Regions from separate parts of the Homo sapiens genome. Here regions 1, 2, 3, 4 and 5 are each linked to region 6. The links are contacts of gene promoters, found by promoter capture Hi-C in blood cells and fetal thymus (Javierre and others, 2016). All regions are on one chromosome and are shown on one strand. The core of a region is centred on a gene start or on the middle of the fragment in contact, and the rest is flanking DNA. Distances in the headings are between cores, read along the strand shown. Region 1 holds the start of LOC124903050 (a long non-coding RNA gene). Region 2 has its middle 41 kb from the start of LINC02441. Region 3 has its middle 44 kb from the start of LINC02411. Region 4 has its middle 38 kb from the start of LINC02375. Region 5 has its middle 54 kb from the start of LINC02375. Region 6 holds the start of TMEM132B (transmembrane protein 132B).

Evidence for each region. The method cuts DNA at HindIII sites, captures the fragments that hold promoters and counts their contacts. A CHiCAGO score of 5 or more calls a contact.
Region 1: a contact is called between a fragment that was not itself captured here and the fragment with the promoter of TMEM132B in region 6, in 1 of 17 cell types (endothelial precursors). The highest score is 5.5, in endothelial precursors.
Region 2: a fragment that was not itself captured here is called in contact with the fragment with the promoter of TMEM132B in region 6 in 3 of 17 cell types (endothelial precursors, non-activated CD4 T cells and total CD4 T cells); the score reaches 10.4 in endothelial precursors.
Region 3: a fragment that was not itself captured here is called in contact with the fragment with the promoter of TMEM132B in region 6 in 1 of 17 cell types (endothelial precursors); the score reaches 6.1 in endothelial precursors.
Region 4: a contact is called between a fragment that was not itself captured here and the fragment with the promoter of TMEM132B in region 6, in 1 of 17 cell types (endothelial precursors). The highest score is 9.2, in endothelial precursors.
Region 5: a fragment that was not itself captured here is called in contact with the fragment with the promoter of TMEM132B in region 6 in 1 of 17 cell types (endothelial precursors); the score reaches 7.2 in endothelial precursors.

Annotation. Positions count from the first base shown.
Region 1 is chr12:127,301,401-127,304,997 of GRCh38, reverse strand. It overlaps LOC124903050 (a long non-coding RNA gene), which reads left to right and starts at 1,208. Exons shown (of 3, transcript XR_007063523.1): 1 at 1,208-1,488. The HindIII fragment of the contact is 2,095 bases long and covers 1,103-3,197 here.
Region 2 is chr12:128,066,188-128,069,829 of GRCh38, reverse strand. No RefSeq gene overlaps it. Among named protein-coding and RNA genes, the nearest start is that of LINC02441, 41 kb to the right of the region's middle. The HindIII fragment of the contact is 3,583 bases long and covers 1-3,146 here.
Region 3 is chr12:127,678,510-127,681,976 of GRCh38, reverse strand. No RefSeq gene overlaps it. Among named protein-coding and RNA genes, the nearest start is that of LINC02411, 44 kb to the right of the region's middle. The HindIII fragment of the contact is 1,023 bases long and covers 1,644-2,666 here.
Region 4 is chr12:127,375,894-127,379,470 of GRCh38, reverse strand. No RefSeq gene overlaps it. Among named protein-coding and RNA genes, the nearest start is that of LINC02375, 38 kb to the right of the region's middle. The HindIII fragment of the contact is 2,567 bases long and covers 652-3,218 here.
Region 5 is chr12:127,392,498-127,395,670 of GRCh38, reverse strand. No RefSeq gene overlaps it. Among named protein-coding and RNA genes, the nearest start is that of LINC02375, 54 kb to the right of the region's middle. The HindIII fragment of the contact is 3,025 bases long and covers 237-3,173 here.
Region 6 is chr12:125,184,498-125,187,705 of GRCh38, reverse strand. It overlaps TMEM132B (transmembrane protein 132B), which reads right to left and starts at 1,320. Exons shown (of 9, transcript NM_001366854.1): 1 at 840-1,320. The coding sequence starts at 906. RefSeq lists a silencer at 1,328-1,537 and an enhancer at 1,586-2,119. The HindIII fragment of the contact is 2,339 bases long and covers 8-2,346 here.

The DNA.
Region 1 (3,597 bases), core at 901-3,400, 2.1 Mb before region 6:
CACCACCAGCCCTCCTCATCTCCCTCCCCAGTCTAAGCTTCTCCAGGGCACTTGTTTGATGAGCCATTCCACTTCCTGCTATAGATGCTTCCTGCTTTATTCTCAGTGTCTCTTCTGGAGAGTCAGCTTCATGAGTGTAGATGCCCATCTCAGTCACTGCTGTGTCCCCGGCACCTAAATGCACCTGGCACACAGGAGGATGGACTGGAGATGAGAATCCATGTGCCCAGACTCCTGGCTCAGTTCTCTTTCTATTCTGAATGGTAAATGGTCCCACAGTAGTTCATGAGCTCAGGATAAGATCTGCACAGAGAAAACACATACTGATGGACTGCTACCCATATGATCCCCATACGTTCCAGTTATTGGTTCTCAACCACCTCTACCTACCAGTCATTGTGCCAGGCATCAGTGATTTGCAAACTTTATAGGTTATTGTGACAATGACCTACAAGCTGGTTTTATCATGGCCATTTGTAAAGGAGGCAATGGAAGTTCAAAGAGGTGAAGCCACTGGTGTAAAGCCACACAGCAGTGCAGCCAGCTTGGAAGTTGACTGAAGCTGTATTACTGTTATAGATCAAGACCAGTATCCAGATGAGAAACCCCTGCTGGTGATTATATCCATTATTCTCACTCCAAACGACCCCAATTATGGAGGGACCCTCTGAGCTGAACTGGGCGCCAGAAGGTGGTAGGTGGTGGTGGGGGTAGGGGGTGAGGTATGAGTTCCACCCCGACTGATAAAAGAGGGTAAACAGGCCCAGCATCTTCCAAACACGCAGACCTTGTGCTTATGTCAACCCTTGATTAAGAAATAAATGTACTCTGTTTTTTTAAAAAAATCCAAACAACAAATACCTCAAGTTGAGAGAATAACCTAAGACCTTGACTTCATAGTAAAACATAATGTATTTGTTTTCTTTAGAGAAGATTGATTTCTCATCAGAAAATAGAGGAAATAAAATGGGAGAAAATTGGCAAATTATATAAAAGTGGCTTTAAGCTTTTTGCAACTTCAAACTATCCACAATCTGGTGAGATTGCTGCTATAATACATGACTGTTTGGGCCAAAATGGGCATGGCTCACAAATGGAAGCTTGTTTTGCTCCCACGTTGGAGTGTGGACCCCTCAGCTGACATTAACAATGCCAGTGTTTATTGTTATAATCTGCAGACAGGACCACACAAGGTGGCCAGAGGAAAAAGAAATAAAAAACAATAACAGCAACAACAACAATAACAAAAGCCTTATTTTTTCCAAAATGCTTTTAGGAAGCTGTTTCTTATGCCTCAGACTCCTAGAATCTCATGAAGGATGCAATTTCTTTGACATTGACCAACTCCACTTGCCTCTTAGAGGAGATGATGTGAGTAAAGCAACAGAAATTCACATGAAGGTGTAGAACATTGCTTCTGGGTCATCTTCAGATACATATTTGGGCAGAGAAAGGGAGGCCAGATAGTCCTATCTGCATATGAGTTCGGTAAGTGTTGTATTTACTCATTCTTCCTCTAAACAAATATTTTTAAATAAATTTTATTGGGTACATTTGAGGTTTACAGGTTTGCAACATGATGCTGTGGGATATATACAGAGAGTAAAATGGTTTCTAGAGTGAAGTCTGTGAACATATCTCTTATCTCACAGTTAGTTTTTCTGTGACGAGAGCAGCTGCATTGTACTTATTTAACAAAAACCCTAACGTAACATATTGTATTAAGCTCATTAACAAACGTTTTTGAGTGCCAACTCTGGGACAGTCATTGTTTTAGACATTGGGAATATGATGTTAAAATAGCACGCACAGTTCCTGCTCCCAAGGAGCTTATATAATATTATGTGTATGTGTGGGATGGGGCAGGTGTGTGGGGCGAGGGGGAAGGGGACAAGAATGCAAAGAACCAATGAAGGAGAATATAGCTGGTCAGGTAGGTTAAAGTATTATGGGGAAAATAACACAGAAGGTGCATAGCGAGTACCTATTAGTGGCAACTGTTATTTGAAAAGACAATATAAGCATGGGTCTCATGGATAAGCTGATGTTTGAGCTTGAACCTAAAAGAAATGAGCTTGGAGGGCTTGGGTCCTGGGGGAAAGGAATATCCCAGGTTGAGATAGCAGCAAAAGTAAAGGCCCTAATCAAGGAGTGTGCCTGACCTATTTGGGGTAGAGCAATAAGGACAGCATGCACCCAATGCCTTAAATGATGACTGTCCCAGAGTTAGCACCAGGGGAGCTGGTGGTGATGAGGTCAAGAGCTCTGAGTGAGGGTCTGATAGTGATGGCTTGGACCATGCTGTAAGGAGCAGCTGTGATAAATGCAGTTGTGAGTGTTGCCTGCCCACTGTGGGTCCCCCTTCCTGACAGCACATGCCATGTTTGCCCACACTCATTGGCCAGAACTAGCTAATGGCTTCGCTCAAAGACAAGACCTAGAATTATGTTTCTACTGTGTGCCCAAGAAGAGGGAAATCTGAAAATATTTGGCAAGCTGGTGTAATGGCCTCCATATCACAGATGCATACAGAAGTAGTTCTTTATTGTCAGGTATAAACAATCAAAAACATTTGGAGGGCATTATCTAGAGAAATAATGTAGCAATTCCAGCTAGGTAATTTTGCAGTCAGATAATGATATTTGGCATTTCTGCAATGATTGCCGTTAACGTTGAGGCATTTTAAAGTGACCTTTAATCTATTGCCTGAATTGGCAGCAGAGAGGGTGAACTTCTTAAAGCCACTCCAAGATTAAAAATGCATCCCAAGTGATGGATGTGTGTTTCTTCCTTGTTAGGCTACCCATGTATTCACCACTTTATATATTTCTCTGGCATTAAGCAGGCAGAAATGTTCCATTTATTCTTTCCTCTCTTCCCCTTGCCCTACTGTCTTAATGTTCAGGCTCAGAAATAATAAGACAGCTGCCTTTCCTGGCATAGAGAACTAATAGTGACAGATTCTTTACACATGCAAATATATCCTTAGTTATACTTTATAAATATAAGACGCTAGATGATAATGAATTTAATGTTTTAAGTATCATGCCTAATTTAATGACATCAGCTTTTAGTGATTCAGAAATCAACACACTTTCATTCTATTGGGTAAATACTAATCAAGTTGCAATGATATAGGGTAATGAATTAGGTCTCAGGGAAAGAAGAAATTCCCTTTGCTACCTGTGGTTTAAGCTTGTGTCATTCTTGAGGGCAACTTAGAATCCAGCCCACCACAGCATGCCGCTTGTTACTGCTGGGTGAAAATCAAAGTGGTTGAAAACAGTCTTCTTTGGCTCAGAGCTATAGCCCAATATCAGACATGGATAATTGGGTAAACAGCCAGATTTAAATGTGAGCAAATAATAGAATGTAGTTCAGGATTATTTGCCATGCAAAGATTTTCTGTGGAAATTGCACGTTTCTCCTTGGGAGCAGAGTCTGACCCATGAATTTCTCTCTGTGTGTGTACAGATATGCACATGTGCAAACACACGTGCCAATTCAGTAGAATTATCAACATTTTAATCTTCATCTCAATCGCGTGAAACAGGCTTTTTCATTATCTGCATGTTTAGAAGTGGAGGGAACCGGGAT
Region 2 (3,642 bases), core at 106-2,605, 2.9 Mb before region 6:
GGCTTAGGGAAGAATAAGGTAAACTCCCTTCTCCAAATCTTCTTTGATCTTAAGCATATAGCCTTAACATCTGGAACTTACATTTAATAGGTTCAATTGTGGAGTTACACGATGATGGATTCTCATTTTTTCTGTTTGGAATTGGAGACGAAGCAATCATCACCAGGTGATTTACCTTGGCGAGAAAGTTGAAGAATTGACACTACAGTACGCTGCCACCAGGTGGCAGTCAATGCCTTTATCTTAGAGCTCGAACCACTAGCCGACCTCAGCATTACTAGTTCCAGTTTATGAGGAATATCAATAGTGTGAATATGTGATTAGTAATATTATGAATTGTAGGAATGTTATACTGTGGTTTACCATATCATAGACTTTTTAGGCACGTTATCCACGTTTAATCTTCACAGCAGCTTTGCGAAATAGTGTTATTTCCATTTCGTTAACAAAGAAGGGAAGGTTCCTAGGTTGACTGAGCTGCTGGAGGCCACACGAATCTTAGGTTGTGGACTTAAAACCACCAGACCCTCGATCCTGTCCTCATTCTATTCCACTTAGAGTTTTCGGAGTGCTGTTAATTTTCAACATTTTATTTAATATAATTTATTTAAGTAATTGAACTTAATATCAGAAAGCTATATGTTTAAGAGTATATATTATTTTTTTTCCATTTGACACCAGCCTGGGTGACATAGTGAGACCCCCCATCTCTACAAAACAAAGTAATTAAAAATTAGCTGGGCGTAGTAGTGGGGGCCTGTGGTCCTAAGCACTCGGGAGGCTGGGACAGGAGGATCACTTGAGCCTGGGAGGTCGAGGATTCAGTGAGCCATGATTGCACTCCAGCCTGGGTGACGGAGCAAGACTGTGTCTCAAAAAAAAAATCACAGAATAAAGATATACCTTGTAGAGTTCAGTACTTATTATGGGTTGAATTGTACTCCATACAAGATGCTGAAGAATTAACCCTCAGTACATGTCAATGTGACTTTACCTGGAAACAGGGTCTATGCCAGTGTTATGGGCTGAATGTGACCTCCTAAAATTTATATGTTAAAGCTCCTCATTTCTAATGTGATGGTGGTAGGAAGTGGGGCCTTTGGAAGGTGGTCAGGTCATGAGGGCGGAGCCGACATGACGGGTGTTAGTGCCCTAATGAGAAGATATATGAGAGACATGATCTAGCTCTCCACCACGTGAGGACATAGGAAAGAAGGATCTGTCTGCAAATCAGGAAGTCTTAGTAAGTTCTTACCAGGAACTGAATCAGCCAGCACCTTGATCTTGGACTTCCAGCTTCCAGAACTGTGAGAAATGAACATTTGTTGTTTTAGCCACCCGGTCTAGGACATTTATTCTAGCAGCCTGGACTGAGGCAGCAGATGATCAAGTTAAAATAAGGTCACTAGGCTGGGCCCTAATCCAGTATGATTGGCATCTCTACCAAAAGGGAACATTTATTCACAGAGACCGGCATGCACACAGGAAGAGCGCCCTGTGAAACTGGAGTTCTGCTGCCGCAAGCAAAGTGACCACTGGAAGCTGGTAGAGAGGTAGGGAGTATATCCTTCCCTAGCACCTGCCTGCAGAGGGAATGTGGCCCCACGGCCTTGATACTGGATTTCCAGCCGCCAGAATGGTGAGGCAAGGAACTTCTGTGGTTTCAAGACCCCCAGTTTGTGGGGCTTTATTAGGCCAAGTCTATTGATGACTCTATTTGTAAGGGCAAGTCTGTTGATGCCTCTATTTCTAATTTTAGCGGTGCAGCCTTTAGAGACGATGCATTTCACATAATTAGTATACCCAGGAGAAAATTATTCTTTGATTTTATGTTTGTTCCCTGCCAAAGGGACTAAAATATCCCCTTGAGAGATCAGCCATAAAATTTCCACCCTTTCTTGCCTCCTTTCTCTGCCTCCTTGCTCCTTTCTTCCTTCCTTCTCTTCCTCCTTCCTTTCCTTATGTTACAGTCTCGCCAATGCACCTTTTCACCTTCTGCTTTGGCTCCAATGAGAGGAGAGATTTTTTCTCCCTTTTCTTACCTCTGAGTTTGGATATTCCCACACCCCTCCCACCAGCATACATCCAGTCACTCCACACCAGAGCTGTCATTTAAAGATGGTCCCCGCAGATCCGGGAAGAGCAGAGGCTGTTACTTGCATGTTTGGGGCTCTGAGAAGGTGGAGGACGACCCCCCTGCTAGCAGAGAGCTTTGCCTTCAGTCACTCTTCATTTCCATGGATTGCTGGAGAGAACCCTGTTCCCTGTCTCCTATGGTTCCTCTCCACTGATGAGGTCAAGAGCCAAAAAAAGAGGATTAAGCTGTACCTGTGCTGAAAACATATATTAAGAAAACACTTCTGGAGGCTGGGCATGGTGGCTTATGCCTGTAACCCCAGCACTTTGGGAGGCCAAGGCGGGAGGATCACTTGAGGTCAGGAGTTCGAGACCAGCCTGGCCAACATGGCGAAACCCCGTCTCTACTAAAAATACAAAAATTAGCTGGGCATGGTGGCACATGCCTGTAATCCCAGCTACTCGGGAGGCTGAAGTGGTAGGATCACTTGAACCTAGGAGGTGGAGTTTACAGTGAGCCCAGATGGTGCCACTGCACTCCAGCCTGGGTGACAGAGGGAGACATTTTCTAAAAAAAAAAAAACCTTCTGGGAATTTGTTTTCCCGTGAAGAAAAAGGGCACTTTTCCCTGTAATCTCAGAGAAGAATAAACTTTTCTCCTCCCAATCTGTGTCCAGGTGAGTGAGTGTTGGATATGAATCAACATTTGAATATGCCATCTCCACTTCAGACATCATAACAATGCCTACGGTTCTCCATAAACTTTGACAATCTGATTATATTAGTTTCCTGTGCTTCCAAAACAAATGACCACAATCTGAATTGCTGTCTTAGTCTGCACAGGCTGCTAAACAAAACACAACGGACTCGGTGGACAAAGCAACAGAAATTTATTTCCTCACACTTCTGGAGGCTGAGGATCTGAGATCAAGGTGCCAGCATGGGCGGGTTCTGCTGAAGGCTCTCTTCCTGGCTTATAGATGGTGCCTTCTCACTGTATCCTCACGTGGGGATAAGAGGGCATGGGAGAGGGGAGAAAGAGAGAGAGAGAGAGGAGAAAGAGAGAAGCTTCCTTTTCTCTTTCTCTTATGAGACCACAGTCTTAATCTTCCTCTTATAAAACCACAGTTCTGCCTGATTAGGGCCCCACCCCTGTGGCCCCATTTAAGCTGAATTCTTTAATTACCTTCTAAAGACCCTACCTCCATGTACAGTCACATTGGGGGCTTCAACACATACATTTTGTGGGAGACACAGTTCAGTCCATAGCAGGGCTTAAAGCACCGGAAATGTATTCTTTCACAGCTCTGGAAGTTAGAGTCCCACATCTCCATGTCAGCAGGCCACGCTCTCTCTGCAGGCTCTAGGGGAGCCCCTCCTCACCTTTTCCAGCCCATAGCACTCCTGGGTTTCCTTGGCTGGTGGCTGCGTCGCTCCCGTCTCCGCCTCCATCCTCACCTGGCCTTCTTTTCTGAGGGTCGGTGTCTGTGAGTGTCCTCCTCTTGTAATGACACCAGTTCTATTGGGTTTATGGCCCACCCTAATCCTGCATGACCTCATATTAAC
Region 3 (3,467 bases), core at 906-3,405, 2.5 Mb before region 6:
AACAAGTGCTCCCTCAACTCTGCGCCCAGTTCCCTTCCTGGCTGCCAGACTAACAACTAGGGTTGACACCTAGCATAAACCAGGTGGGTATATGTTGATACTGAAAAGTTAGCACAGAGAGATCAGACATTAAAAAAACACATGGGACAGATTAGCCTGCATGCATTAGCACGAACGAGGGGAATTGCTCACTTTTTGGGGATGGATTTTAAGGGCCAGGATGGCAATACTGCATACATGAGCATTCATTGCCTTGAGACACTTTCTCTCATGGTATTTACACCCTAGAAGAGTCCCAGATACTGGGACGAATTCACTGCTGGGAAGATTTTTAGAAGCCTAGAAAAAACACTGCTGATGGTAAGAAAAAAGAGGCTGAGGGAAATCAGTGTGTTGGAATGAATATACTAAGTCCAGATGACTCAGCAGAAAATCGTGTTTCTCGAGAAAGCCCCTAGGAGATACCGAGGCGATGGCTTATGCTGCAATGTGCATGGGAATGTGATGGAGAGACAGCACTGGCGTCTCTAAGAGGGTCGGTGGCAGTTCTGCTTTGCAGGCCAGAGCTGACCATAGGAAGGCTCTTTGATCACCCGGGCAGGATCATCAACATCCATAGGGATGTGGAAGCCCTGAGGTAACACAGGTGGCTGCACTTTAAACCCACAAGCCAGAAGGCTGCAATCAACATAAAACTCTCAGCAAGGGTGCAGGGACATTCGAGGGAGTTTGACCCAAAGGCATTGTGGAGATGGATAGCAGAGAATGGCCTTTCTCAAAACAAAATGGATGGGCCAGCAACCAGGGTGCTACTTAACATCTGTATCTTTAAAAAGGCAGGCCCAGGGTGGTGGCTCATGCCTGTAATTCCAGCACTTTGGGAGGCCGAGGCAGGTGGAACATGAGGTCAGGAGATCGAGACCATCCTGGCCAACATGGTGAAAACCCGTCTCTACTAAAAATACACAAAAATAAGCCGAGCATGGTGGCACATGCCTGTAATCTCAATCGGGAGGCTGAGGCAGGAGAATTGCTTGAACCAGGGAGTCGGAGGTTGCAGTGAGCAGAGATTGCGCCACTGCACTCCAGCCTGGCTACAGAGTGAGACTCTGTCTGAGAAAAAAGAAAAGAAAAGAAAAGAAAAGAAAAGAAAAAACAAAAGGCAAGAAGAAGCAAGCAGGAGTTTGAGGATGTTGCGCCATAAAAAGTTACAATCCCTTACACAATGTCCAGTCTTAAGCCGTTTTTCAAGTCCTGACATCACTGATGGAAGAGCTTGCCACAACCCTAAGAGGAAGACAAAGGACCTTGCAACACCGTGAAAAGCAGATGCTGTGATGGAAAGCAGGACTGAGACATCACGACTGAGACATCATGCTTTGTGTCTCGCCTCTTAGAAGGGCTCCTGTGGGTGCCAGGTAATAAATGGATCCCTGGATGAAGTTTGGCTCACAGTCAGCTCACTGTATGTGTAGACCCAACTAAGTGATGTGTGGGCCAAGGCCCTGGGTCCCCTAAAGGTCTGTTGAGAAATGACTGACATGAGGCAGATTGATTAATAGGAGAAAAGGCATATTTATTTAACATGTATACACGGTGGTCTTCAGAATGAAGGCTTAACCCGCTGGTGAGGTATAGAAGCTTATACACCATCCTGAGGTTACAGAGAGAATGCATGCTCAGAGCACAGCCAAAAACACGTTTTAGTGGCAAGACAGGTCATAGGAGAGAGAAAGGAAGAGTCTTGGCTGGCAAAGGTGGCCTTATCATGTGAATGAAGCCTCTCAGGTAGCATCCCACAGGCAGAATAGATGGCAGCTGCCTCTTTCCAGACTTTTAAAGGTGTCAGACTCTCTCTTAGAATCTCTGTTAGATCCAGGAAAGGCCTGGAAAGGGAGGCCTGGCTGCGTTACTGAAGATTCTCTACAGAGGCAAATTTCCCCCACAAAAGACGGCTTTGCAGGGCCGTTTCTAAATATGTCAAAAAATATATTTTGGCATAAAATGTTTTGATGTACTTCAGTGGTCACTTCTGAAGTCCCCAAGTATCAGTTGAATTTGGTACAATTGGTGTTTGGAGGAACCTCCATATTGGGTCTGTGTCCTGTGTGGTAAGAATTTTTATAGTGAGGAAGTCACAGTGGAAACCTCTGAAACTACCTACCTAGGTAAGATAACAAATTAAAAAAAAAATCTCATGTTGGAGAAGCAGGAGAAAGCAAAAATAAATGGATTCATTAAAGGTCTAAAGGGGGCTGTGGTGGTCCCTTTTATAACTCCACTGAATTCACCAGGGATCAGCAGGAAAGGAGAGGGTCTCCTGTATTGGCAAGAGTGTCTACTGATTAGTGACACCTACCAGGAGGTGACATAGGGCTGCATTTATGCAGGGGCAGGAAGGCGTGGACGTGGAGCTCGTGTGACCTGCATGGATGCCTCCTGATGCTCCCCCACCCCACTGTTACAGTGAGTGGGCAAAGGCAGCAACCCCAGCCTAAAGGTTCTGCTCAGACTGCAGTGAGACACCAAGGCCTGCCCAAGAGATAGCTGAGAGTGACAGGATTCAGAATGGATTGTGCAGGAGGGAGAGGATGCAGTTGCAGCTCTGAGATCAACTACAGTTATTGGGGCTATAATTCCTGCCACAAATGTCCCTCTTCTAAGCTTCCTCTCGTGAAGGAAGGCCCTGTGGGGACTGCAGAGAAGATGCTCCCAAGATGTATGGGAAGCAAAGGGCTGCAAGGTGGAGAGGGTGGGTTGTGGTGTCTGCGAGAGGAGACTCGGATGTCCGAGTGCGACAATGGACCAGTGACCCAGGCTGCTGCCCTCTGGACCTCACCACTAGGTTTGTGCTGAGACCACACCTCCCAGGGGTGACCCCAGCCATGATGCCCCACGGGCTCCCTAAGGCACACTACCCCAAGAGACTGGGCCTTCTTTGACGGAGACTTTGGTTTGGGGCTTCCATGCTGACTTTTCTAAATATTTCAAACTCCACAGCTGTCTGAGACTCTCCTGCCCACCATGCCACCCCTCTTTCCTTCCCAGACAACTGGACCTGCTTTGTGGTTGGATGGCTCTTCCCATCTCCCCTGACTCCCTGCCTATTTTCTCTCAAGAGTGTTTCTCCTAATACAACTCCTGCATGTCTAATCCCAACTTGCTTTCTGTTCTCTAAAGACCTAGACTAACACATCAATGCTGATTTTAAGAAGAAAATACAAATACCATTGAAGCCAGCTGGATACTCTTCCCAAACTTCCCAAACTGTCCCTCTCCACTCAGACGTAACCACTCTCCTAAGTCTAGTTTATCATAATTAGTAGCTCTTTTAATTGGGGATTTGAGGTGGTTCTCAGCATGAGAATTTAAACACACCATCTACAATTCAGGGCAAGAATGTCTATAACCAGGCTAATTTGCATTAAGATTAGAGTCATCAGATCTAATGGGTACCATTATTTCAT
Region 4 (3,577 bases), core at 686-3,185, 2.2 Mb before region 6:
CACAATTTTAGCCCGTAGGATTGACTTCCTGTTTTGCAAGTGCAAGAAATGGCACTCTGAGACTTCACCCACTTCTCCTGTTAGATATTCGTTAGTTTTGTCATTTTTTTCGTGGCCGAGTTTGTGACATGGGTAACCTCTTATAGATCCTAATTCCCCCCTTCTGCTATCGTTGTTTCTCTGCTGGGGAACTATGCTAGGCTTCTCTTTCTCGTTCCGTTGGTCACTAACAGGCCATCTGATTCTTTCCATCCTCAGAGATGATTGGCATCTTTTATCTGCTGATAGCCCTATGTTGTTGCGAGATCACAACTTTCTGTTCATTTATTCTCATTTCAATGTGATCTAGAGGACAGATGAGATGCAGTGATTAGTCCGTAGTGTTCCTCACGTTCTTTCAAACTGTGAAATGCTGCTGAGAGTTAAGGTATTGATGGCAGTCATTCTTTACACACACCTTCACCGAGGGCCTGTGTGCTGACACTGGGCTGAAAGCTGGCATTGGATGAGGGAGGCCCAGTTCTTGCCATCAGGGATGTCAGCAAGGTTTTCTGCCAAGGAACAGAGTTCTCCTATTTTTTTTTTTTTTTTTTTTGTAAAATTCCTTTCACGAAGGAGGAAGAATTCTATTCCATGATTAAATACCAAGCTTAAACACCGTGAGTAAATACCAAGTATAAACTCTGAGCTCCTGGGGTGGAGTAATCATGCCTTTATGCATTTAGACTCAGTTGGAAAAGCTGCTGGGCTCTTTCCTGAGACAGATAAGAAGCAAGAGCATTTAGAAAAGACCGAGAGAGGGGTCACTGTGGACCTTGGGGGAGACATTTCTCACTTTCCCCAGAACCACCTTGGACTCTGGAAAATGTCCTCTTTGGCCAGTGATGGCTATAAGGTCCCACCCTCTCAGCAGAGGAGAGGAGCTTCAGTTGTGTCCAGTACTTTATGGAGAAGAGTCCAGTCTTCTTTTATACCAATTTTTTAATACTAAATGTGGCTTTGAAGCCACGTAAAACAGGTGCCGCTTGGTGAACACCTCCTGGGCACCAGGCAGGAGTTAGGCTCTGCAGTGCATGTCCACTAATCTCACATGCATTTGCTTTTCTATTAATATTTTTTAAAGCACCTTATTGTCGTAATCCATACACCATAAAATTCACCTCTTTACATGTACGATTAAATGATTTTTACTAAGGGTACAGGGCTGTGCAACCGTCACCACCATCCAGTTCCAGGAAATCTCCATCATCCCCAGAAAATCTTGTATGCCTGTTTGTCTTCCTTGCTCATTTTGCCCCATGAATCTCATTTCTGTCTCTACAGACTTGTCTTCTCTGGGTCTTTTATATAAATGGAATCTTGCAATATGTGGTATTTTGTATCTAGTTTCTTTCACCTAATGTAATATTTTTGAGGTTCACCCATGTTGTAGCATGCATAAGAACTCAATGCTGTTTCTTGCTGTCTATGCTAATGTGTGTAAATATCATATATGCTTATCAGTTCATCAGTTGATGGGCATTATTTTCCTATTTTTTGCCTCTTCTAATTAATACTTCTATAAATATTAGTGTACAAGAAGTTGTGCTGATGTTTTTTATTTTCTCTTGGATAGACAATTAAGAAAAATTTCTTCGTGAGACTAAATTGTGTCTAAATTTGTATCTATTCATTTATTTTTAACTTTTTATTTTGAAATAACTTAGACTGTATTTAGTTACACGAACAGGATAGAGGGGTCCCCTGTACCCTTTAACTGGCTTATCCCAATGATAAGATTTTGTATAACCACAGCACAATTTTCAAGATCAGAAAATTGATATTGATAACTTATAGACTTTTTATAATGTCATAAATTTTTCAGTGCACTGTGTTGTGGCTTTGTTTTGTTGGGTTTTGTTTGGTTTGGTGTAAAGTTCTATTATATTTTTTCTGCATGCACAGTGTCACATAACTGTCACCACAATCAGATATAAATACAGGGAGGCAGCAATTCATAGTCATCCCTTCCACATAACCCTAATGCCTGACAACCCCTCATAGGTCCTCCACACTATAATTTGTCATTTTGAGAATGTTCTAGCAATAAAATAATATCGTAAGTGTATTTTGAATCTTTCCCCATTCAGCATAATGGTCATTGAGATCTATCCAAGTTATTGTGTTTCTCAATACTATTCCATTTATAGATGTCACACAAGTCATCTCTTGGCCACTGAAGGGCATTTGAATTGTTTAGGGTTTTAAGTTCTTGCAAACAAAGTTGCTATGAACAATTGTGTACACACTTCTGTGGACATACCTTTTTATTTATATGGGCTAAGTTAATGGGGTACACATGTTGGGCCATGCGATGAGTTTAACTGTATAAGAAAGTGTCAGATGTTTTGCAGACTAGTTGTATCATTTTGCGTTCACACCAGCAATACCTGAGAGATTCAGTTGCTTCGTATCATCACCAGCACTGGACAATGTGCAATGTGTAATTCTAATAGGTATGTAGGGGTATATCACTGTGGTTTTAACTTGCATTTTCCTAAGAGCTAATGATGTTGAACATTTTTTCATTTGCTTTTTTTTTTTTTTGAGACAGTCTCGCATGTTCCCCCCGGCTGGAATGCAGTAGCGTGATCTTGGCTCACTGCAAGCTCCGCCTCTCAGGTTCACGCCATTCTCCCGCCTCAGCCTCTGGAGTAGCTGGGACTACAGGCGCCTGCTACCACGCCCAGCTAATTTTTTTTTGTATTTTTAGTAGCGACGGGGTTTCACCCTGTTGGCCAGGATGGTCTCGATCTCCTGACCTCGTGATCCCCCCCCCGCCTCGGCCTCCCAAAGTGCTGGGATTACAGGCGTGAGCCACCTCGCCCGGCTTCATTTGCTTTTTTGCTATGTGAATGTATTCTTTGGTGAAATGTTCAAGTCTTTTGCCTATGTTTTAATCAGGCTGTTAGATTGCTTATTATTGAGTTTTGTGAATTGTTTATACATTTTAAATGTTAAAGCCTTAGTTGGATATGCAATTTACAAATATGTTATTTCAGTCTATAGCTTGTATTTTCATTTTCTTTATAGTTTCTTCCGCAGAGCAAAAGATTTTAGTTTTCACAAAGTCTAATTTACTGAATTTTTCTTTTATGGATCATGTATTTGGTGTTATGCCAAAGAAATAAAACCCTTTATTATAACCCCAGGCCGCAATAAATTTTCTCTTAAAAGCTTTATAATTCTTCATATTATTTATAGATCTGTGAACCCTTTTGAGGAAGATTTTGTGCAACGTTTAAGAATTAAGTTGTTTATTGAGGTTTTTATTTTATTTAATTTATGTTTTTGCATGTGGATATCTGCTTGTTCAACTTTATTTATTGAAAAGACTATCTTTTCTCCATCGAATTGCTTTTGCACCTATGCAAAAGAATTAGTTTGCCATCGTTATGTGGTTATATTTCTGGGGTCTTTATTCTGCTTCGTTGACCTGTGTGTTGACCCCTCTGACAATCATAATGTTTTCACTATTATTGTCCTCATCTGGGGTGACTTTGCCACACAGGTAACAATTTAGCACCATCTGTAGACA
Region 5 (3,173 bases), core at 500-2,999, 2.2 Mb before region 6:
TTTATGGGGTACAATGTGAGGTTTTGATATATGTATACAATGTGAAATGATTAAATCAAGCTGATTAATACATCCATCAACTCATTTACTCATTTTTTTGTGGTCAGGCTTTGACATTTACTCTTATTTTAAATTATACATTACTATTGCCTGTGGAATCTAAAAAAGTCAAACTCATAGAAGTAGAGAGTAGACAATGGCTATCAAATTTAAATTTGTATTTAACTTTTGAAGCTTTATATTTCAAGATAATTGCAGTTCACAGGTGGTTGTAAGAAATAATACAGAGAGATCCTGTGCAAACTTCACCCAGTTTCCCTCAGTGGCCACAACTGCATAACTATAGCACAGCACTTAAACTAGGACATTGAAATGGACACAATCCATGGACCTTATTAGAATTCCCCACTTTTACCTGCACTTGTGCGTGGTGATTATTCTATGCAGTTTATTCTATGCAATTGTACACATGTGTAGACTCATGTAATCACCCTCATACTCAAGATTCAGAACATTTTCTTTCTCCTTTCATAGCTACAACCACTCCTCTCCCTCCCAGCTTCCTCCCTAACCCTTGGCAAACCCTAATTTTTTCTTCATCCCTATGTTTGTGTCATTTTAAGAATGTTATGTAAGAAGAATCAGATAGTATGAAACCTTTTGAGATGGTCTTTTTTTTTTTTTTCCATTCATTGTAATTCCTTTGAGGTCCATCCAGGATGGTACATGCCTCAATAGGGTGTTTCTTTTTGTTTCTTAGCTTCTCTGGTGCAGATTGTTTAAATATTTAGCCGTAAAGAACATTGGTTTGTTTCTAGTCTGGGACTATTACAAATAAGACTACTCTAATCATTCATGTACAGGTCTATAAGGGATCTACTTTCTTTGCATTCTCCCCAGCATTTGGTATTATTATTATTATTAATTTTTTTTTTTTTTTGAGAAACAGTCTAACTCGGTCACCCCAGCTAGAGTGCAGTGGCATGATCACCACTCACTACAGCCTTGAAATCCTAGACTCCAGCGATCCTCCCACCTCAGCCCCACCAAGTAGCTGGAACTATAGGATGTGCTGCCACACTCAGCTTTTTTTTTATTATTATTATTTTGTGGAGATAAGGTCTTGCTATGTTGTCCAGGCTGATCTCAAACACCTGAGCTCAAGTGGTCCTCTCGCCTCAGCCTCTTAAAATGTTGGCATTATAAGTGTGAGCCACTGCAACTGGCATTTTGTTACTTTTTAATTTTAAGCATAAGTGTGTGTTGGTATCTCATTGTGGTTTTAATTTTCTATTTAACTCTCTAAAAATTAAACTGCTCTGTTGGACTTTTATTATAGCAATTATATTTTACTTGGCATGATTTTATTTATTAATACCTATTAAAGGCAAGGGAGACTTGTCTGTTTTGTTTGCCTCTGAATTCCCATTTTCTGGCATTTAGTAGGTACTCAACAAATAAATAGTACCCTGTAGATAAATATGCCAGTGACTGTGCTAGCCCCTGGGGTGACTAAGCTGTTAATAACAGGCTTGGCCTTTAAAATGCTTACTGCATTATGCAGAGTTTCTTAGCGTTGGCATGACTCACATTTTGGGCCAGAACATTATCGTGGGTGTTGGAGAGATGGCTGTGCTGTGTTATGGGATGTTGAGCAGCATCTCTGGCCTCTACTTGCTAGATACCAGAAGCATCACCCAGTTTGTGATAAACAAATTTGTCTCCAAGTATTGTCCAATGTTCCCTGGGGGTTCAGATGGCTCCCAGTTGGGAACTAATGTTTTATTAAGAGAGATAGATGCGTTTTCCATGAAGCCAAGTGTATATAAATATACTTACCAGCTAGGTGTGAGGATATGGCTCAAGACTCAATCAACTAGTCATTTCTTGTCTCCCAGAATGCAAATTACGTCCCCAGAATGTCACAGAGTATCCTGTCAGATCTTTGAGTATACTCGATGAATTAAACAAACACTGATTAGAGGATTCCTACACTTTGCCAGGCACCATGCCAGCCACTACAGATGGTGCAGGGAGCAATACACACATAATCTAGTCCTCAAGGAGTTATTGTCTACTGGGGGAAGTCAGAGATTGATCAAGTTATCTTAAACATGATGCTCATTGGGAGGCCGAGGCAGATGGATCACCTGAGGTCAGGAGTTCGAGACCAGTCTGGCCAAGGTGGTGAAACCCCATCTTTACTAAAAATACAAACATTAGCCAGGCGTGGTGGCAGGCACCTGTAATCTCAGCTACTCAGGAGGCTGAGGCAGGAGAACTGCTTGAACCCGCGAGCCGAGATCATGCCATTGCACTCCAGGCTGGGTGACAGAGCAAGACTCTGTCTCAAAAATAATAATAATAATTATTATTATTATTATATTATAATTATGATGCTTATTTGGGAAGTGAAGTGAAGTCAAGGGTGCTTTGGGGCTGCTTACCAAAGAGGTGGGCTGGACTGGCCTGAGAGCTGTTATTAAGAAAGATGAAGACTACATAAGTAGAGAAGATGGGATAATGACCTAAATCAGAGGGCTTTGAAGATATTAGCATACAAGGTTTAGTTTAAGATTGGTCAGCCCATGGTTTTCATACTGAATTCCATAAGACCATATAATGCAGGAAAATGCACTGGGGGACCCTATTGGAATAAAGGAAGTGCCAAGAAGGCATAGACACAAGTCTCCTTCCCTAAGATTCAACAGAATAGCCATACTTTTATCTTTTTTACAGTGGAGTTGCATTTTGGTGTGGTGGTGTGCATCCTGTGTTCTAATATTGGCTCATAGGGTACAGATAGCTTAGAAGCAAAATGATCCATGAAAACCTATGCAGGAAAACATGGTGCAGAAGACAGACACATTTATCTGTCCAATTCAGCATCAGTAAGTCCACACAGCCAGCTCTTCCTCAAGGTTGAGCACAGTCCTTGGGTTGAATACCAGGTGGAGCTGGTGTAGGCCTGGGCACCATGCTGCCTACACAATAGACACCATTAGTAGGCTACAGAATAGCCTAGGAGCACACTCAGTGTAGAAAGAGGCTCCCATCCTAAGAAGTGCCTGGATGCTGAGCCTGAGTGAGAAAATGACAGGTCCTCATCTTCCAACCCAGGCTCACTGCAGGACGCTTGCATGTTGAAGGAGACTGAGCCTGCTTTCCCCAGA
Region 6 (3,208 bases), core at 71-2,570:
GAAAGCTTTCCAAACTCCAGCGAAGACAGACAATACCTGACTATTTTGCTTTTCCCACTCACTAGGATTGGGCGACAGCTGAGCTGGTTCAGCAGGGAGTCCAGCTCCCCGGTGCCCAGGCAATGGCTCTGGACAGCACCGCGTTCCAGGCTCCCCGGCGCGTCCTGGACTGCTTGGCCGCGGCTACCCTCTCCCGCCCGCCTTGGGGTCAGGGCGCTGGAGTAGACCGCGTTTGCAGGAGGCGCGCAGCGGGCTGCTCTTTGGCCAAGAGGAGGCCATTTGGCGAGGGTGGGTAGCTTGGGGAGGGCAGTGTGAAAGCAGGGGAGGGCCGCGGGGCGTGGGGAGGGGCTGCGGACAAGCCAGACAGCGCCGGCCGAGACATCTCCGGGGCCCGCAGGTGTCCCGGGAACGCACCACTGTGCGACCGCGGGCAGCAAGACACTGGAGAAGGGCTGCGTCGACGCCCCCGCCCAGCAAAACCCCTGGAGGAACTGGGACCTGGGGGGGATTTGGCCCAAGGCAGGGCGGGGAGGGGGCTCGATTCCTGCAGTCGCGTCCCCACCCGCCTCGAGAGGCTGAGTGCCCCGGTCTGTGGCCCCCGTGCGTCCCGAAAGGATCCGCAAGGAAGCTAAGGGTTTGGGGGAGAAGGCAGGCGGGCTCTCCCCAGGCGCTAGGCAAAGGGGAACGCGCCGGGGGCTCCTGGGTTCCCAGGGTCTCCCCAGGTCTGTCCAAGTCCGGGAGATGCGCGCTGCCAGGGACTTGAGAAGGAGGTAGCCGCCCGTTCACCCAACTTTGTGCGCCTCGGCCGGGGTCGGGGATGGGGTCCGGGGACGCGTTACCTGGGCACTGGAGCGCAGTCAGCGCCAGCAGGAGCCCGAGCGGCGGCGCCCGGCCCGGGGGCGGCATGGTCCTCGGCGCGCGGTGGGTGCGGCGCGGGGCTGCTCCTCTCGCGCGCCCGGCCCGGCCCGCGGCTCCCGGAGCAGCCCCCGGCGGCTACGCCCGGGCGCCGGGCATGGCTCGCTCCCAGCGCGCCGCTCCTCCCCAGACGCATGCGCCGGCGCTGGCGGCGCTTCCTCGGCTGCGCCTCTGCGCGCTCTCCTGGGCTCGGCCGTGCGTGGCTGGGGAGCTGGGGCGGCCGAGGCTCAGCGCCCCGCGCCCTGGCCGGCTGCCCCGCAGTTGGCCCGAGTTGCGCGGCCCCCGCCGCCGCCGCCGCCGCGGCTCCTGCGCCCCAGCGCCCGTCCCATCCCGGTCGCGCCGCCGCCGCCGCCGCCGCCTCTGCCATCGCCATCTGCCGGCCGCCCCTCGAGCCAGCGAGAGAGTGAGCGAGCGAGCGAGCGCCGGGGGGAGGAGGAGGAGGAGGAGGAGTAGGAGGAGGAGGAGGAGGAGAGGAGCGGAGGGCGGGGCCGCGGCCGGGGGAGGGGCCGCCCGGGAGCCGGGGCACAGGCGGCAGCCCGGCCAGTAGGCGGCGGGACGCGCCACTGCTCGGCGGTTCGGGGGAGGGCGCCCGGCCGGGAGGCTCCGGGAGCCCGCCGGGGGTCGCGGGCGCTCGCGGGTACAGGGGCTGCGGGAGGGGTGCGCAATGCAGAGAGGGGATGCCCAGCTAGATCCGGCGTCTTGGGGCGCAGCGGTAGGAGTTGCCAAGGTCGAGGGGTGAGGAGGCCAGCGGAGGGTCACCGGGATGGGGCAGCGACCTCTGGAGAGGTGGTGTCTGCCGGGGCCAGAGACTGCAAGACTGAGCGCGGACAGGAGGTCCCGGGTTAAATGTGGCACAGCTAGGGAGTGCCTGTGGGAGAGGGGAGAGGAGAGAGGGGAGGGCCTCCGGGAGGCCGAGGCTGTGTGCAGAGCCTCTGCACGGCACCGGGATGGGGGCTAGGGGTGCGCAGGCTGGGTGCGGTGACCTGAAACACAGCGAAGGCGGCCTGGGGATGGCCACCCGGGTGAGGCAGGGTCCCTTATTTACCCAGGCTAGAGGATGCGCCTTCCCATTTCGCGCAGGCCCTAGGAGCACGCGGAGGCAGCCAGGAGTTCTCCTGGGAAGGGCAGATTCCCTGGCGGTCCCGGGAATGAGTTCCCAGCGCAGGGTCAGGCAGTGACGGAGCGGAGGTGTTGCGCAGGGCCGGGTACTAGGTGGTCGAATTCTTCCATCCAGGGGCAGGGACGCAGCCAGAGTGCGGAGGGAGGTCACAGGTCACACGGAGCCCCAGTACCTATTATCCCAGAAACCACTGATCCTCCTGGGCGCCCCACCCCCAACCAGGGCAAAGCCACGGGGGGCTAAGCCGAATGAATGAGTCATGCTGGGAGCATGTGGGGGAGCCTCCAGCAGCGCTCAGATGCCTTCAAGCTTCCCCACCACGCTGGGAGGACAGGGGATATGGGGGGTTGCCCACCTGGGAGGGTGGCTTGGAGTCCTGGCTCCGCCCCAGCCCCCACCACACCAGCCACTTGCTCTGCCATCTCAGTTTTCCATGAAAAAGTGGGTCAAACTCTTTGAAAATGGTCAATAAGGCAGCGTGGGGTGATGAAAAGACAGATTTGGGGAAGGCTCTGGAGTCATGGAGTCTTGGCTGAGAATCCCAGCTCTGCCGCTCCTTAGCTGTGCAAGCTGGGGCGAGTCCCTTATTCCTCCCTGAGCCTCAGTTTTCTCATCTGAGAGATGGAAGGCATTGCACATCACCTGGTGTCCCCAATAACACATACAAAGCCCCTGACCTAGGAAGTCGGAACTCATTTAAAGGAGTCAGTGTCAACATTATCATTCTCATCATCATGGCCATTATTATGATAGATCTGATTTTCCTCTGCGGGCCCAGAGCTCACATCAGAAGGACAATCCTCCCCACTCCCGGCTGCCAAGAGGGGATGGGGGACAGGGCACCTGCTTGATTAGTACAGACAAGCTCATTAGCAGAGGCAGCACTCAGTTCTTCCTAGATAAAAGAAGGAAGAAAGCCAGGGGCAGGTGGTGAGTCTCCAGCCCAGGTTAATTAGGAGACGTAAAGGGATTTTCCCGTGGCTGTTAATCGGCTTCCTTTACAAGGGGCCCATGCCCAGGCCAAGCCCCCTTTGGGCTCCCTGGCAAGGCCTGCAATGTGTGGAGAGCCATACAACAGGCTGGACGACGGGATTGGGGGTCTCCTCGGGCTTAGGGTGGCCTTGCGAGGGGCCCATCTGTCCCCTTTCTGTGACCCTTTCCCCAGATAAGAGG